2 separate regions of the Homo sapiens genome follow, and region 1 is linked to region 2. Evidence: promoter capture Hi-C in 16 types of primary human blood cells and fetal thymus (Javierre and others, 2016). All regions are on one chromosome and are shown on one strand. The core of a region is centred on a gene start or on the middle of the fragment in contact, and the rest is flanking DNA. Distances in the headings are between cores, read along the strand shown. Region 1 overlaps CLIC4 (chloride intracellular channel 4). Region 2 holds the start of IL22RA1 (interleukin 22 receptor subunit alpha 1).

The links. The method cuts DNA at HindIII sites, captures the fragments that hold promoters and counts their contacts. A CHiCAGO score of 5 or more calls a contact.
Region 1: a fragment that was not itself captured here is called in contact with the fragment with the promoter of IL22RA1 in region 2 in 4 of 17 cell types (non-activated CD4 T cells, total CD8 T cells, activated CD4 T cells and 1 more); the score reaches 7.8 in non-activated CD4 T cells.

Annotation. Positions count from the first base shown.
Region 1 is chr1:24,822,626-24,826,994 of GRCh38, reverse strand. The region is part of intron 3 of CLIC4 (chloride intracellular channel 4); the gene reads right to left. Among named protein-coding and RNA genes, the nearest start is that of CLIC4, 79 kb to the right of the region's middle. The HindIII fragment of the contact is 971 bases long and covers 1,406-2,376 here.
Region 2 is chr1:24,141,585-24,146,124 of GRCh38, reverse strand. It overlaps IL22RA1 (interleukin 22 receptor subunit alpha 1), which reads left to right and starts at 2,985. Exons shown (of 7, transcript NM_021258.4): 1 at 2,985-3,085. The coding sequence starts at 3,043. The HindIII fragment of the contact is 5,016 bases long and covers 1-3,518 here.

The sequences.
Region 1 (4,369 bases), core at 642-3,141, 680 kb before region 2:
GATATGGATTATAGATCCTTCAAAGATGAATTAGCATAAGTTCTCTCAAACCACCATGCTAGCAGTTACTAGACGTCTTTTAATAGTTATTACTATAAGAAATACCATCATTTGTTTTCTATGGTATTTTTAAAAACTGTTTTTTCCTTACGAGACAAAGCTCTGCACTATGTTTTTGTTCACATATTAATATTCTTGGCAACCACAGGGCATGTGCACTCCACCTCCATCTGATAAATTAGAATGCTGGGGAAACAGTTGACTTGTTCAGAGATTTCTGCCAGGCCAATGGGAGTCTTGGAATGAGATTGCTAGAGCAGTGCTGTCCAAGAGAACTTTCTGTGATGATGGAAATGTTCTCTATCTTCATTGTCCAGTACAGTAGCCACTAGTGCCATGTACCTATTTGAATATGAATTTAAATTAATCACAAACAAAATTAAAAATTCACTTCCTCAGTTGCACTAGTCACATTTCAAGTGCTCAGTAGTCACCAGACAGCACAGCTCACGCGCCTTCTCAAACAGCAGTGCCAACCAGATCCTTAGTATGTCCTGCACTAAACCAGCCAGAGAACCCCAACGGCAGGAAAAGCGCCTAGGCTGGTCAAGCATCATGATCACCCATAGCAGGTTAAGGACAAAAACAAAAGGAGGCGGATCAATCGCTTGAAACCTACACCTGGGATTTCCCAAAACCTCCCTTATATTACACATTCCCTAGAATATTTATGAGGGTAGCACCGAACAACAACAAAATGAGATGTCAGAAAGCACACTGACAAGTGTTCTATTGTGTTGTCAAATTTTTCTACTTTTAGAACAGATGTAATACACCAGCTTTCTAAAACACACACAAAAATGTATATTTCACTGTTTAGATTTAAAACACACATACTCTGTGTATATTTCTTCTTCAAACTGGAAAATATATGAAAAAGCTCAATTATTCATCTTCCCTTTAGGAGGACTCATGTCAGCCCCAGGAGTCAGGGCTAGAAGAATTCAGATTCTTAGCCCCATTTTAGGGAAGATTAATCAGCTTGAAGGTCCTGCAAAACGTCACTAGAAAATGGACTTGGGAGCAATAAGACTTTAGAAAAAACCTTACAGTGTACTAATTATTTCAACTCATTTATTTGAAGACATTGTCTTGCCAGCTTTCTTTAAAAACGAAGGGGAAGTAGTTTTCAAAATTCAGTTCAGTTGCAAGTTGTGTTTCAGCTTTTATATTCATGTATCTTCTGTTTACTATTTTGAATTCAGGAAGAGATATATCTTCTAAATATTGGGCAGAGTACTATATTGGTAAGGAAGATATAAAATATCTATGGAACACCTATATGCTCAAGACATCTTTTTTAATAAGTGTACCTAGTCTCTAGATAGCTCTCATTTTTTAAGCTTAAAGATTTATCTTATAAACACAATTATTTACATAAAGAGTTTTTCTGTAAAAATTACAGTGAGTTTCACCTGAATTTAGATATCTATATCTATCTAGCCATACATTAACCACACATCGCCAACTATAGGGCCCTTTACCCTCTCCATTTTCTTTGTTTCTGCCTGGGCTGAAACAGTTAATCACAGATCCACCATCCCTGGATTTTCCTTGACTATACAAACAAGCCTCCAGTTTAAATGTTTGTACTGCTTGTGATACAGGACCATCATTGACTCATTTCAAACAAAAAATAGCGCAGTGAACATAATGCCTTTTCAATACATCTATGTCTTCCTATAGCCAAGTTTCCCAAATTCTCCTTTTCCGCAACCACTATTTAGCTGTACCTAATTGTACTAATGAAGTAAGCCTCATAGTTCTTAAAATAATTTTCGGGAAGGCAGGCTTGAATTACAGATCATTTATATATTCATCATTCATACATACAGTGTAATTCTTGTAATATGCCCTGTTGTCCCTCTGAGATGTATTACTAATTTTGTACTTTTGTGTGTGTGTGTGTGTGTGTGTGTGTGTGTGTGTGTGTGTGTGACAGGGTCTCCCTCTGTCACCCAGGGTGGAGTGTAGTGGCAGGATCTTGCTCACTGCAGCCTCAACCTCCTGGGCTCAAGCGATCCTCCCACCTCAGCCTCCTGAGTAGCTGGGACTACAGGCATGTGCCACCACACTTGGCTAGCTTTTTGTATTTTTTTGTAGAGACGAGGTTTCCCCATGTTGCCCAGGCTAGTGTTGAACTCCTGGGCTCAAGTGATCCTCCTGCCTCAGCCTCCCAAAGTGCTGGGATTACAGGCCTGAGCCACTGCACCCAGCCTGTACTATTAATTTAATGCACAGAATAGTATAGCTATAAGAGAATGTTCACCTCAGATCTCTCATTTTACCTAAAAGGAAATTATGTTCCAGAAAGCTTACACACTTGGCCCCCAAATCACTCAGCTAATTAAAAGTATTGACAAACGAGACCAAGCACAGTGGCTCATGCCTGTAATCCCAGCACTTTGGGATGCCAAGGTGGGCGGATCAATTGAGGTCAGGAGTTCGAGACTAGCCTGGCCAACATGGCAAAACTCTGTCTCCACTAAAAATACAAAAATCAGCCAGGCATGGTAGCGGGTGCCTGTAATCCCAGCTTCTCAGGAGTCTGAGGCAGGAGAATTGCTTGAGACCAGGAAGCAGAGGTTGCAGTGAGCAGAGATCATGCCACTGCACTCAGCCCGGGTGACAGAGCGAGACTGCGTCTCAAAAAAAAAAAGTATTGACAAACTAAAACTGAAATCTCCTGTCCCCAGGTCTAGTGTTTTTGTTTGTTTGTTTGTTTCTATTACAGATTAGATTATCTCTAAAAGATAAATCAAATTCTAAACCAGTAGGTTCAAAATCAACTTTTTTGCATCTTCCCCAAACATTACATTGTAATTTATGCATTATTATTGGCTTTAGCAAATAGCTTGATCAAGCAATGGTTTTCAATTATTGTGAGAACTCATTTTAACACTTAGCAAAAGGGAGGCAAATAATAAAAGGCTAAGTGTCAATGACAGAATAGACATGAGCACCCAGGGTATTTAGACTTTCAGATAAGTCCTTAATTCTGCTTACATCACAGACTCTTAACATTTTAGACTAGCTAAGAATGTTTCCATGCTTTTAGGAAAGATCTCAGGCATTTTCTCCTTTCTGGTGTAAATATAAAAATGAAGGCTGATTAGCCTTGTAAATTCCTTTTTTGTATGTCTTTTTTTTTTTTTTTTTTGAGACAGAGTTTTGCTCTTATTGTCCAGGCTAGAGTACAGTGGCGCAATCTCCGCTCACTGCAACCTCCGCCTTCCGGTTTCAAGCGATTCTCCTGCCTCAGCCTCCCAAGTCGCTGGGATTACAGGCGCCCGTCACCACGCCCAGCTAATTTTTTGTGTTTTTATTAGAAACAGGGTTTCACCATGTTGGTCAGGCTGGTCTCAAACTGCTGACCTCATGATCCACCCGCCTTGGCCTCCCAAAGTGCTGGGATTACAGGCGTGAGCTACCACACCCGGCCTGTATGTCTCATTTTTAAAAAAGGTTTAATAACATTTTATAGCATGCCCCTCCAAATTTATCTCGCTTCCTTCTATTTTATCCTTTTATCAGTAAGTTAGCTAAGTATATCTAGGCTGTTTCAGTTAAAAATCCAAGTCTCAAAGTTTTTTAGCAAAGTGGTTTCTTCATTCAAGCAAGAACTATAAAACATACACAAAAATACTTTCCCCAGAGAAGAAGAAAAAGTTCACTTTAAAACCTATAGCCACACATACCAGTAAAAGTTATCTGATTTGAGCTTTTCATTAGCCTCTCAATGTTAAGCAACTCTAGAATAGACAATTGCCTGTATTTATATTTGTCATGATTAAATCAGGAAGTGTTCACAAAAAACCACTCAGTTCTCAGTACATCAAATGACAAAAACATGTTATTAGAAATGCTAGATTCCAGTCTACAAGCTTGCACAATTCTTCTCCTTTTTCTCCTTATCCTATTTAGAAACAGTCTTACAAGCAGAGCCTGAAGAAGACTAGCAATAAAGACCTGAGACCTCCTTGTTCTGGAAGGAAAAGGCAGTGAGACAGAATGGTCCCTGGGTGCCCTAGAACAATATAGCACAATAGAGGGAAGGAAAATAAATGCAGCTTGTGATCCCAGAAACTCTTCCTCCTCCCACTCATCCCCTAGAAACAATTCTGCATGATGAAAATTATGCTAATTAATTAGCATTTCACATTCTGGGTCCATAGAGCCCACTAAGAAGGCGACATTCCCACTTCAAACATGCTGTTTCAATGCATACAAATAAATAAAAATTCATCAGAAGAGTTAAGATTCACCTGCTTTTTCAAAGCATTCACTGAATTAAGTAAGGGCAGGCACT
Region 2 (4,540 bases), core at 1,736-4,235:
TGCCTCAGGCTCCCAAGTAGCTGGGACTACAGGCATGTGCCACCACACCTGGCTAATTTTTTATTATTTATAGAGACAGTGTCTCACTATGTTGCCCAGGCTGGCTTTAAACTCCTGGACTCAAGCGATACTCCCTCCTTGGCCTTCCAAAATGCCGGGATTACAGGCATGAGCCACGGTGCCTGGCCTCTGGAAGGACTTTCAAAGTGAGATGTTATGGGCTGGAGTTATCAAGAAGGGCCATATCGCAGAAGAAAACTGTCTTGGTGAGATTCGAGGAAAAGGGAATTGGCTAAGGGAGTGGAAATGGCATTCCAGGAGGAGGATAGAGCCCCAACAAAGGCTTGTCTTTAATGCCGATTTGTTATGTTTAGTAACCTTGCTTTCCCTTAATATAAATTAGTGTATTTCCTATATTAACTTTAGGAAATGCAGATAAGCAAAGGGAAGAAAAGAAAAATCACCTACAATTCCACTACCACCCAGAGATAACGCCCCTAGTGTTTTCATCTATATCCATGAAGACACGCAGTTTGCTCTGCGTGTGCAGGTGTGCGTTTTAGCCAGGGTGGTACTGTACATAGGTTATGTTATGCCTCTTTTCACTTGAAAAAATATGATGAGTCTTTACCAGGTCACGAAACATTTTTCTCCAGCATTATTTTGGAAGCTGCATTTGTCTTGCTTTGGGTGGACATACCATTATTCTTTTAACCAAACCTCTATTGTCAGACATGGAGGTTGTTTTCATTTTTTTCTCCTTTTTTTTTTTTTTTTTTTTTTTTTTGAGACGGAGTCTCGCTCTGTCGCCCAGGCAGGAGTGCAATGGTGCGGTCTCGGTTCACTGCAACTTCCACATCCTGGGCTCAAGCAATTCTCCTGCTTCAGCCTCCCGAGCAGCTGGGATTACAGGTGCCCGCCACCATGTCCGGCTAATTTTTGTATTTTTAGTAGAGACAGGGTTTCGCCATGCTGCCCAGGCTGGTCTCGAACTCCTGATCTCAGGTGATCTGCCCACCTTGGCCTCCCAAAGTGCGAGATTACAGGCATGAGCCACCACGCCCCACCTATTTTTTTCTTAAACTGTTAGAAATGAAGTCTGGGTGTTCCCACATTCCTTAGCAATCCAGGTGTCTTCCTTCCCGTTAATTCCTACATAACCACAGGCCCTCGAAACTACAGGATGCCCTTTTCCTCCATCAAGTTCCTTCTTCCAGTGCTTCTGAGAGGCCCCAAGGAACACTTTCGTGTTCCACAGACCTGTTGGGGCTGCGTCTTGTCCTCTCGGCCAGCCACTTGGGACCAAAGCCTGCTCTTCTCCCTAAGCGTCCCTTGTAACCTGTTTTTCTCGCTGTAGCTTCCCCACACTGCCTTGTCATCAAAGTCATCAAAAACCCTCTATCCATCATGGTTCATTCAGTAGCACAGAAACCTCTCCAGTCTTTCAGACCAAGGGACTTTAATGTAAAGGAGCTCGTCACCCAGAGGATGAAGGAGCTGGGACACTAATCAGGACAGACAGTTCAGAGATTTCCCCAAAGCAGGAAGCTGTGCCATCCCACCAACTGAAAGGAAAGATGAGGGGAGAAGGTGTTGCCAGAGCCAGGAGCTGGCCTCCAAACAGGAACAAGAAAGACATAAGGGGTTGCCTGGCTGATGGACTGTCCAGAGGGAGCCAGAACTGCAGAGGGATATGGCCATTGCTGGGGAAGCCACTCAAACAGAAAACGAGGGGAGAAATGCTCTGATCTCTGCCTCCCCAGTCTTCCCCCAGGGGCTAAACCTATCAGAAAGCAGTTGATAAAGGAGTCTAGAAAATGTAGTTTCCTGCAGTTTCAGGAAATGACTGGCATGGGCCCTACCTTAATTCCTCCAAAGCACAGCTTAGATTTGGCTGTTTTGTCAAACAAACTTTAGCAATCAGGGCTGATAACAATTACAATTCAGGAAAGAAAAACTTAAACACCGATCTCAGCATATCACAGCCCATTACACCCAACCCGTTGGCAGGATCCCTGCTAAAATTTCGCTTGCCTTTGTGTGCTTGGGGCCAGGCAAACTCTCCCCAGGGGCAGGACCCTCCAATCGTGTCCACCCTGACCAGAGTCCAGGCCCCAGGGCCCTTCTACCTTCTCCAGGCCCTGCAGGAAGGAGAAAACCATTTCCTAAACACCTGTCCCTTCATTCACACGAAGCTCATGTGCAGATCCTGCCCTACGTGGCAAAATGATGGGAGAGCAGCCTGAATCTTCATCGTCCCGAACCAAAGCCCCATTCATGAAGTTCAGCCCCATCTCTAGCACAGCAGAAAGAATCACTGAAGTTTGAGTTCCATTTTTTTTCTAAACTTTTGCAGATCCTAGACCCAAAGGCTCAAGGTAAGAGCGGCTGGGCTTCCTCACCCCCAACGGCCTCTCTAGGGGAGAGCTGTTCCCAAGCCCACCCCAAGCGTGGGGACCTGCCTTGATATGGAGGATCAAGGAGGAGCATCGGGTGCCCTCAATCTCCTCCTGCCAGAAAAGCAAAGGAGTCACAGCTTTTCCTTTGCTGCAAGAAACATTCTGGGACCTTTTTTTTCCCCCTCTGTTGTCCAGTTATTTTCATCAGGGTAAATCCCCTAGGAATAGAATTATTAAAGCAAAAGATATGTATGTGGTGTAGGCTTTTGATCCACAGTGCCAAATTGCTTTTTGATAAGGCTGCATATCGTGGATTATTCTTGCCTTTTCTGCCCCTCAGCTCCTTGATAAACCACTTGGGATGAATCAGCCACCGGACCAGATAAACAAGCCAGCCTGTTACTATTGCTGTTTTCTGCAAGTCGGAAGGGAACTCCCTTAGATCCCGCCCAGAACCTGGAATTCCAGAGCACACAGGGCCAGGACACCTTTGTACCCCTGCTCCCCACCGGCACAGGTCCCACCCACCCCCTTCTCCCCGCCCCATGCCCGGGTGGAGCCAGCTGCCAGGGCGCCAAGACTCCCAGCCCTCTCTCTGTGCACGGCAGAGTAGAGGCCAAGGGAGGGCTCTGTGCCAGCCCCGATGAGGACGCTGCTGACCATCTTGACTGTGGGATCCCTGGCTGGTGAGTGCCCATCTACCCTGTGGTCAGACCTCCCTTATCCCAGGGGCCAACGATCAGGGTCATCTCCCCAGCACCCTCCCCAGCCCGAGCATAGCCAGTTTCAGTTTCTCCCCTGCTAGGGCTGAGCAGGGTGCCGGGTGTTCACGGAGAAGCAAATGCCCAGCTTAGTTTGCTGGGGGCATGAGAGGGTGCCTCAGACCCTGGGTTCTTCCAGGGACCCAAAGGACCCTCGGGTCTTGAGGGATATAGCCAGCTGTCTGAACTGGGGGTGCTGGATCGCTGCACCTCAGTGAATGGAGAATTGGCCTGGAGGAGGCAGACATCCTTCGGTCCCTCAAACGGTGTCGGCACAGTTTGTACCATCCTTCCTCTGCCTCTCACTTGGCACTGGCCTGACAGGGGAGGAGGAGGAAGGACCGGGGGAAACGAAGCTTGAGTTCACTATTGCCTCCCTCCATGCCCCTGCAGGGCCTCTTTGGCCCCTTTTGTTATCATAGATCTGAAAGAGCATTTTCTCCTAGAGTGGCCAGGTCTGCTACATTAATAGGTCTTAAGACACAGGACTCATTTGGAAACAGGTCTTAAGGGCATAGTGTTCAAAGCCAATAAAGTGAGCGGAGTGGGGGGCTCATCATTATGGAGAACGTTACATGAGACCCTAGACTCTCTCTCTGCTCTCCTGGTGCATTGCATGAAATTCAGGGAACTTCCTTAGGAAGTCAAAGCATAGTCCTGATTGAGGATGGCGAGCAGGTATGGCCTCGGCCAGGCCCTCCTTGCTCAAGTGCAGGACGAGGCCCACGAAAAGGCAGAGCTTCCCACCTTCTCTGCCACTGTCCCGCCAGGGCTGCCTGCGTCTCCAGGGCTTCCAGCTCTGTGGGACCCCCTCCAGTCTGCTTCCCAGCATCAAGCTGGGCGTTCCAGGAAGATGTGAGGCACCCCCTTGAGGCACCAAGACACGTCCCTTTAGACCCTCAGCCATACTGGTTAGAAATCCTAGAGGCTCCCAGCCCTTTGAGATGGGGGACCCCAAGAAATAGCCCTTAGGAGATTGTCAAGGGTCAGCTGCCTCGCGCTGCACACACCGGGCCCTCACCCCCCCAATCTTAGGCTGACTCCAGAGCATGTGGAATTGTTTCTTGTTTGTGTATTTTTCCTTAGCTTCCCAGCTGGTTGACAGAACATTGTTTTTCCACATGAATGTGAAAAAACAAGTTGCCTTTTATAAATCCGCCAGGCTGCCAGGCTCCACACAACACATGTCTCCCCAGATTTCACAATATAGACTTTCACCCGGGAAGTGCCGAAGCAACACAGGCTGAGGAATGGATGATAGATTTGAGGAGGAAAAGGAGCGAGGAGGGTGGGAGAAGAGGGGGAGATCTTGTTAGACCCTGACATCCCTAAAAGACAGGAGTGGGCCTAGGTTCACTTACCCCACTTCAGGAAGCTAAC